Linked DNA regions of Homo sapiens: all the other regions are linked to region 3. The links are contacts of gene promoters, found by promoter capture Hi-C in blood cells and fetal thymus (Javierre and others, 2016). All regions are on one chromosome and are shown on one strand. The core of a region is centred on a gene start or on the middle of the fragment in contact, and the rest is flanking DNA. Distances in the headings are between cores, read along the strand shown. Region 1 has its middle 69 kb from the start of SDR9C7. Region 2 has its middle 77 kb from the start of HSD17B6. Region 3 holds the start of RDH16 (retinol dehydrogenase 16).

Region 1 (2,821 bases), core at 286-2,785, 92 kb before region 3:
TTATATTTAAAAGGGAAGCAGAGCATAAAAGTTTGGAAAATTTGCAGCCTGGCCATGTGGTAGAAAAGAAAACCCCATTTTCAGGGAAGGAATTCAAGTCAGCTACAGAAATTGGCTTAAGAGGAGCCAAATGTTAGTAACCAAGACAATTGGGAAAATGCCTTGAAACCATGACAGAGACCTTCAGAGCAGCCCCTCCCATCACAGGTCCAGAGGCCTAGAATGGAAAAATTGTTTCTTGGGCCAGGCCAAGGGCCCTGCTGCCCTGCACAACCTTGGAACAGTGCTCCCTGCACCCCAGCTGCTCCAGCTCCAGCTATGGTTAAAAGGGCTCCAGATATATCTCAGGCCACTGCTTCAGAGGGTGCAAGCCTTTAAGACTTGGCAGTTTCTTTGTGGTGCTAAGCCTGTGGGTGCGCAGAGGGAAAAAGTTGAGTCTTGGAAGCTTCCACCTAGATTTCAGAGAATTTATGGAAACACCTGGATGTCCAGGCAGAATTCTGATGCAGGGATGGAGCCCTCATGGAGAACCTCTACTAGGACAGTGTGGAGGGGAAATATGAGGTTGGAGCCCCCACATAGAGTTCCCACTGGGGTACTGCATAGTGGAGCTGTGAGAAGAGGGCCACTATCCTCCAGACACCAGAATCGTAGATCCATTGGCAGCTTGTACCATGTACCTGAAAAAGCTGCAGGCACTCAATGCCAGCCCTTGAGAGCAGCCATGGGAGCTGAGCCCTGCAAGCCAGAGGAGCAGTGCTGCCCAAGGCTTTGGGAGCCCACCCCTTGCATCAGTGTAGCCTACATGTGAGACATGGAGCCAAAGGAGATTATTTTGGGGCTTCAAGATTTAATGACTGCCCTACTGGATTTTGGACTTGCATGGGACCTGTAGCCCCTTTGTTTTGGTGATTTATCTCTTTTGGAATGGGTGTATTTATTCAATGTCTGTAGCCCCATTGTATCTTGGAAGTAACTAACTTGTCTTTGATTTTACAGGCTCACAGGTGGAAGGGACTTGCCTTGCCTCAGATGAGGCTTTGGACTGTGGACTCTTGAGTTAATGCTGAAATATGTTAAGATTTTGGGGGACTCTTGAGAAGTGATGATTGTATTTTGTAATGTGAGAAGAGCCTGAGATTTGGGAGGGGCCAAGTGCAGAATGATACAATTTGAATCTGTGTTCCTGCCCAATCTTACATAGAATTGTAATTCATAATGTTGGAGGAGGGGGCCTAATGAGAGGTGATTGGATCATGGGGGCAGATTTCCCCCTTGCTGTTCTCATGATAGTGAGTGAGTTCCCATGAGATCTGGTGGTTTAAAGGTGTATAGCACCTCCCCCTTCACTCTTTTCTTCCTGCTCCTGCATGTAAGATGTGCCTACTTGTCCTTTGCATTCTGCCATGATTGTAAGTTTCCTGAGGCCTTCTCAGCCATACTTCCTGTAACTTTGAGCACCTCAGTTAGCCATGGGGAATTCATTTAGTCTGTTGGCCAGGGGCATACTTTGACATTTCACTCCCTTTGGTTGAAACCTGCCATAGGCAGCATTGACTACCAGTGTTATGTCTTTGTCCCATATTATTGTTGAAGTGATGTGGCTACCTGCTCTGGGTCTGTCTAGTCCCTTGGTGGGACTTCTGTGACTAAGAGCTCATAGCCAATTTGAACAGCCTGGGCCAGGCAAGGTAGAAAGTCAGGTAAGCACCTGTTAATTGTCTAAGAGTGTTCCTTGTTGGAGTTTGGCAGAGGCATCAGGAAATTAGGAGAATTCAGGGTGTAGTCCAGTCTACAGGTAAATAACAAGGATCTGAAAACAATGTACAGATCTACAATATAGTAACAGTTATATAGTTTTTCTTTGGAAACATAAGTTTTTCTTTTTACACTGATTTTATAGGAATCTTAAATTTAAAACCTTTTGAGTTTAGGAAGCCAAATGAAGGCAAACTTTAGATTTCACTTACAATCTTAGTGTCCTTGGGCATGCCTGGAAGTAGCAATTTTGACTCACTTACGGTAAGCCTGGGAACTCTTGAAGCCAGGCATTTTATGTACATTCTTAAATATGACATTTCAGTCAAAACCTTGATATTATAACTGAGAATTCCACTTGTATCCTGCTTATAGAGAGCATGTAAATAAAATAAGAATACTCAAAAATAGTTTCTAAATTTTGGAGATCTCAAGTAGGGAGAAAAAGCAAATGCTTCCACTTTTGTTAACGAAAGGATATTTTACCAAATTATTACAAACTATAAAAAATTATGAAGTAAATTTCCTTGAATCTGAAAAACAAAACATGTAAGACCAAGAATGCTCTAAATAAAAGTCATAAAACATTATCCTTATCAATTACTTAATTTCATGTAATCAATTTTACCTTGCTTGACACTGATCAGCAGTTCCATGAAAAGCAATTTTGGACTATAGCTGATTGACAACACATATCACTATATCTCAGAATTTTATCACATGAAATTTTGAAACACATTTTAATAACACATTTACACATGCAACTTAAAGAAAGTTAAAAATAATTTTTATTTGACAATGCTTCCTAATAATATCTAAAAGATTTAATTTAGGGCTTTGATCCCAGGAAACCTTCCAAAGATGTCACAAGCTTTAAAGTTCAAAGTATCTGATTCAATAGAATCAAAGTTCGCTGCAAGATGATAGTTATTCATTTAACCAGACTGACAATCAAAAGATGTCAAAAACAATAGAAAAAGTTACATGAATGTAAAAACCTTAACCCTTTTAAAGCTCAGTTTTCCTAAGTAATAAAAAACCTAATAAAGATAACTTGAAGCAC
Region 2 (3,099 bases), core at 533-3,032, 120 kb before region 3:
CCGGGGACGGGAGGACTCCAGGGTCAGGGAGAGAATATTAATTCCCTATTTCCTTTCAAAATTTGGAGCAGAAGGGATATGTGCAGGAGGGAAATGCAAGATAACTACAGATTGAATTCTAAAGAAGGCAAGTCCTTGTGCTGCTCACCAACCTCCCTCTCCTGCACTCACCCCTCTCAATGCCCTGCCCTGATCCTTGAGAAAGTAAATATTAATTTGAACAGAGAAAGTATCTTTCTGGCTGGCCAAAGGGTTTTTTGAAGGACATGCTGCAACTGTAAAGTGTCTTAACGACCTCTTTCTTTGAGTGACTATAGACTTTTTACTCACTGAGAAATCTTGTTCTGTAAAAGCAAAGACTATCAAACACTTCAGTGTTTAAAATTCTATTGTAAGAGGCCAGGTATGGTGACTCACATCTATAATCCCAGCACTTTGGGAGGCCAAGGTGGGAGGATGGCTTGAGGCAAGAAGTTTGAGACCAGTTTGGGGAATAAAGCAAAACCTCATGTCTAAAAAAATTATATCATAAAAATGAATATCCCACCCTTGCCTGAGTCACTTTGACACAGAAGCAGCCTCATTATATAACCCAGGTGCAGAACTTTAGATAGGGGTTGCTGGAAACATTTCACATCTAAACTGTGCTTTCTAATGAAACAAGACCTTGGGACCATTTTGTAATCCAGACCTGGAGTTGATCTCTTTTCACAGAGCCCTGCTTTGCTTGGAGTCTATCAAGAAATTGCTTCATCTCCATATCCTATAATAATTCTCTTTTCCTTTGATCAGACAACCCATGAGTCCCCTGGTATGCAGTCTTCCTCATGGCAATAGGACAAAAGACCTGACTTTGTTGGACCTTAAGTTTATTCCTGGTGCCTCAGGCTGATTAGGAGACCTTTTGGCTTCAGCCTCTCCCTGTGGGGTTTTCTGTCCCTCACCCCTCAGAGGACTTGTGTAGGATGCCAGCTGGCCCTGAGGCCTGTGCCACATTGATGCAAGGATGAGAGTCAAGATCTGCCATGATAAGTCAAGGGAATGTGTAAAATGGCATGTTGGAACTCAGCTGCAGCTGGTCCTGCTGTCCTGCTCGGTGTACCCCCCAGCCACCAGAGGGCCCCAAATGGCCTGCTTTGGAGTTTCTCCAGCAATCATTGAAATTTGGCTCTTGTCTTACAGTCTTTGGTTAGGCTCACAAAGTTTCTGCCAATTCCCTGGGCTGCTTCAAAAACTCTAGCTTACAACTGATGGTAGGAAAACAACACCTAGAAAAACACAGACCATGCCTTAGTGATCAGAATATAGATGTGATTTGATTGCCTCATACTAAGACTCAGCTAGGGGTACTTTTTGAATAATAAAACTTATTAAGAATCCCCCTCGATTAATCAGGTCTTTCTCATCTTATGATTAAGTAAGCTTGGAAAACACTGATTTACACAAGTGATCCACCCTCAGTAAGGCAAAATAAAATGTAGACAGTGTAATTACCTCCTGCTTTAAAGGATGCAGCTAAGAATCCTTTTGTGAAGTAAGTTTCTCCAAATAAGAGTGAAAAAGAATAAGCACCTCTTATTTACTAAGTTAGCATTTTCATGCCCTGGATTTTTGAGGGCCACTGTTCTTGCAGTTTGCTTTCTATACCAGTTTCTATACCTTTATTATCTATACCTCCCTATCTTTCATTCATTCCCTCCTTCTACCCAGATATATACACGTACCACACAACCTGAATATTTCAGAGCAATCTTGATTCCAAGCATTCATTCACTGTTCTCATAAAAATGCTTGTATTTGTCAGTCCTAAGAACAGTCATCATTCATAATGTATCTGTCAGCAATGAAAACACATCCCCAGTATATGCCTAAGCTAACCCCTAATATTTTGTACCTGGAACATTATCTGGCTAACCAGAGACATTGAGGACAAAGCAATTTGTCTGAAGGACAGACTCCCCCACTGCCCCCGCCATCCATCCCCTGCACTGTACTCTGTCCCCCATGCATCCTTCACTCCCTGGGTGGCTGCAGCGATATTCTCTGTCTTGGTGATGTCCAGGGTCACCGTCTCCAGCCTGTCTGAAGTCTGGCCCCTCAGCTGCTCTGCCTCCTTCTCCATCAGACACATAGCCAGCACCCTCAAGCTTTGCGTATCCAGCTGTCTTGCCAGCAGATTCCCGAAGCCCGAGTCACAGCCCATGATGAAGCAGTTATCTCAAGGGAGGCTCACCACCTGTCTCTCCCACTACCAGCGCAGAAGGTAGTACAGGCCCACGAGGGCTATCAGGGAGAGTCCCATGGCAGGGGTCTCTCCTTCACCTTGGGAAAGAAAGAAAATCTTCTAAACCTTAAAAAGTATGTTCTCTGACCACAATGGAATTAAATTAGGAATAAATAACAGAAAAGTATCCAAAAAATCTCCCAGTAGTTGGAAAATTACAAAATATTTGGCTAAATGATACATGCATGGATTAAAAAAGAAATACAAAGAAAAATTAGAATATATTTCAACTGAGTGAAAATGAAAATGTGGTACATTAAAGTTTGTGGAGTGGGGCTAAGCTGTGCTTAGAGAGAAATTTATAACACTAAATGCCTATATTAGAAAAGAAGAAAGGTTTCTTTTTTTAACATTTATTTTAAGATCGGGGTACACGTGAAGGATTGTTACATAGGTAAACGTGTATCATGGGGTTTGTTGTGTAGATTATTTCATCACCCAGGTATTAAGGCTAGTACCCATTAGTTATTTTTCTTGATCCTCTCCCTATCCCCACCCTCAACCCTCTGATAGACCCCAGTGTTCATTGTTCCCCTCTATATATCCATGTGTTCTCATCATTTAGCTTCCACTTATAAATGAGAACATGTAGTATTTGGTTTTCTGTTCCTGCATTAGTCTGCTAAGGATAATGACCTCCAATTCCATCCATGTCCCTGCAAAGGACGTGATTTCATTCTTTTGAATGGCTACATAGTATTCCATTGTGTTTATGTACCACATTCTTTATCCAGTCTATCATTGATGGGCATTTAGGTTGATTCCATCTCTTTGCTATTGTGAATAGTGCTGGAATGAACATATGCATGTATGTG
Region 3 (3,118 bases), core at 494-2,993:
CTCTCCTCCTACTGCATCAGAAGCCCACTCTTCATCCTTCCCTTTAGTCCCAAGTTCACCCAGCTCTGGGAAAATCTCTCTGGAAGATGCAAATACACAATCCCCAGGACTTCAAGTCAATAGAGTTTTCAACCCACAGAGCTAGGGGGCAGGAGCACAGGGTCCCTTGAGTCCAGGCAGGGGGTGGCAGTTGTTGATCTGGAAGGGTTGGCCCAGGCATATGAACCTGTCCCCTGCTCAATAACAGGCCCTGCCCTGATGCAAATGCAGATTCCTCCACCCAGACATCTCATTTTTAAGAATCCAATCAATACTCACACTTACAGAGACGTTGGCAAATAAAAGTCCACCAAGATGACATTTATGATGAATAAAAAGCAGGAAGGAATTTCATATCCAACCACTCAGTATGGATTACATAGGTAAGGCTATTGGAAGGATACAGTATTCTAAATAATTAAATATAATTTTATAAAAACAGTCATTATGGTGGAAAAGTGTTCATCTTCTCCAGAGAATTTAAGGTGACTGAAACTAAGAACAAAATATAAAATCCTAATTTTGTATAATTGTAAAAAGGACTTATGTGTGGATGACAATTTCAGGGAAACTTGTTTTCATCTTTATTCTTTTCAGTGTTTTCCACAAAGATCATATTCTGATTTATTGTTACATAAAATAAATCCATGTTTCTTTCTTCCTCTATAATAAGACAGATGAATTAGTGTAGTGAAAAGAAGAAAGAAAGAAAAAGTAACCCCTTACTAGTTCTGCCTTCCTTAAGCAGTCCTTAAGCTGATACTCTCCTCTGAAGATGGAGATGATCGTAGCTCTCAGTGGACGCTGATGGGCCCTAGCAAAAACAAGGTAAAGTGCTGGGAACATAAGCCTGGCTCCAGCACAGGCACAGCCTCCGTGCACACTTGCAGCCCTGTGCTCCCTTCTCAACGATGCTCCAGCAAGTCTCCAGATCTCTAACCCAGGCTCTTAGCATCAAACAACACATGACTTCTGCTTAGACAGGAGGGAGAGGATAGAGAGGAATTCTGGAGAGAAAATCTCATCAGGGCAAACTCTCCCCAAGACTAGACACCTCCAATGTCGGGAGAGGTTAAGGATTGAAAAGAGATGGGGTTCAGGCAGCCTGTTAAGTGAGAAATATTAGAAAGCTACTGTTACTTCAACCTGGAAAGACACTGTAGGAATCTTCCCAGGGAGCAGACAGGAGGTGGTCCCTTCACACAGAGGGAAGACACAGACAGACTTGACAAACCTGGGTGGTTACCTTTGTCTCTCACGCACTCCTTCACCCACTGGGCGGCTGCAGCAACGCTCTCTGTCTTGGTAACATCCAGGGTCACCGTCTCCAGCCTGTCTGAAGTCTGGCCCCTCAGCTGCTCGGCTCCTTTCTCCGTCAGACATGCAGCCAGCACCCGCAAGCCTCGTGCATCCAGCTGTCTGGCCAGCAGTTTCCCGAAGCCAGAGTCACAGCCCGTGATGAACACATACTTATCTCTCAGGTGGCTCAGCACCTGCCTCTCCCGGTACCAGTGCAGAAGGTAGTACAGGCCCACGAAAACCGCCAGGTAGAGCCACATGGCTTTGCAGAGGACAGACACAGACAGGCTGTGGGGGAAACCAGAGTCTGGCCTCTGTTCAGACAGGAGGATTTAAGAACACAGAGGGCTGTGGTAGGCAGGGAAGCCCTCAGGCATTTTGGCAGGGAATCCTCACTTTCCTCCCTGATGACTGCCTTTCTGCAACATATTTATTCTGGCCCCACCTCTCTGCTCTTTGAACTGCTTTTGCAGTACTCATGCACACCTTTGCACACCTCAAGTCCTGCCCAGTAGGAAGATACTATCTTCCTACTGGGCAATGTGCCCCTAGTCTCCTGATTTCTCTCTGCCTTGCTATGCCCACTACATGCATGCTGTGTCCATGAAGGAGCACACACATATATTCACACAGGAACATACACAGAACTCACACAGGCTTACACACAGCTGCCCACACACACTCTCCATGGCAAACACACCCCTCTGCTCTAAGTACAGGGGTCAAAACTGTCTCTACAAAGCTCCGATACCAACACTCCTGGTCCATGACCTTCTGAACATAGAAAGGCCTTATTGGGTAGCTACCCATGGTTTCCAGGCACATTAGGTGGAAATCCCTCTCTGAGCCTGAGTTTCCTCATCCTGCTCCGCACCCCAGAATCAATCACTCCTCTGAAAACTAGGGCACGGTCAGGCTGTCTAGGATGAGAAGGAGAAGGCAAAGAGTGAGCAGGAACAGGTTCCCTCCTGCTATAATAGTTTTTTGGGGCAGAAGGATTGCAGGATCCCACAGGGAGAATCCAACCTCAGAGGTAAAGAAAGCAGGGAGAGGATGGGCAAATAGGAACAGCTCCGGTCTGCAGCTCCCAGTGTGACTGATGCAGAAAATGGGTGATTTCTGCATTTCCAGCTGAGGTACCTGGTTCATCTCACTGGGACTGGTTGGACAGTGCGTGCAGCCCACAGAGGGTGAGCCGAAGCAAGGCAGGGCATTGCCTTACCCAGGAAGTGTAAGAGGTCAGGGGATTTCCCTTTCCTAGACAAGGGAAGCCGTGACAGACTGTACCTGGAAAAACAAGACACTCCTGCTCAAATACTGCACTTTTCCAATGGTCTTAGCAAATGGCACACCAGGAGATTATATCCTGTGCCTGGTTTGGTGGGTCCCATTCCCACAGAGCTTTGCTCACTGCTAGTGCAGTAGTCTGAGATCAACCTGCAAGGCAGCAGCCTGGCAGGAGGAGGGTTGCTCACCATTGCTGAGGCTTGAGTAGGAAAGCAAAGCAGCTGGGCAGCTCAAACTGGGCGAAGCCCACTGCAGCAAGGCAAGGCTTTCTGCCTCTATAGACTCCACCTCTGGGAGCAGTGCATAACTGAACAAAAGGCAGCAGAAACCTCTGCAGACTTAAACATCCCTGTCTGACAGCACTGAAGAGAGCAGTGGTTCTCCCAGCATGGTGTTTGAGCTCTTAGAACAGACAGACTGCCTTCTCAAATGGGTCCCTGAACCCTGTGTAGACTAACTGGGAGACACCTCCCAGTAGGGGCCGACTGACATC

Evidence for each region. The method cuts DNA at HindIII sites, captures the fragments that hold promoters and counts their contacts. A CHiCAGO score of 5 or more calls a contact.
Region 1: a fragment that was not itself captured here is called in contact with the fragment with the promoter of RDH16 in region 3 in 4 of 17 cell types (erythroblasts, M0 macrophages, megakaryocytes and 1 more); the score reaches 8.5 in erythroblasts.
Region 2: a fragment that was not itself captured here is called in contact with the fragment with the promoter of RDH16 in region 3 in 5 of 17 cell types (M0 macrophages, M2 macrophages, erythroblasts and 2 more); the score reaches 8.2 in M0 macrophages.

Annotation. Positions count from the first base shown.
Region 1 is chr12:56,864,015-56,866,835 of GRCh38, forward strand. No RefSeq gene overlaps it. Among named protein-coding and RNA genes, the nearest start is that of SDR9C7, 69 kb to the right of the region's middle. The HindIII fragment of the contact is 2,184 bases long and covers 444-2,627 here.
Region 2 is chr12:56,838,974-56,842,072 of GRCh38, forward strand. No RefSeq gene overlaps it. Among named protein-coding and RNA genes, the nearest start is that of HSD17B6, 77 kb to the left of the region's middle. The HindIII fragment of the contact is 725 bases long and covers 1,421-2,145 here.
Region 3 is chr12:56,955,865-56,958,982 of GRCh38, forward strand. RDH16 (retinol dehydrogenase 16) reads right to left here and starts at 1,744. Exons shown (of 4, transcript NM_003708.5): 1 at 1,286-1,744. The coding sequence starts at 1,598. The HindIII fragment of the contact is 6,494 bases long and covers 1-3,118 here.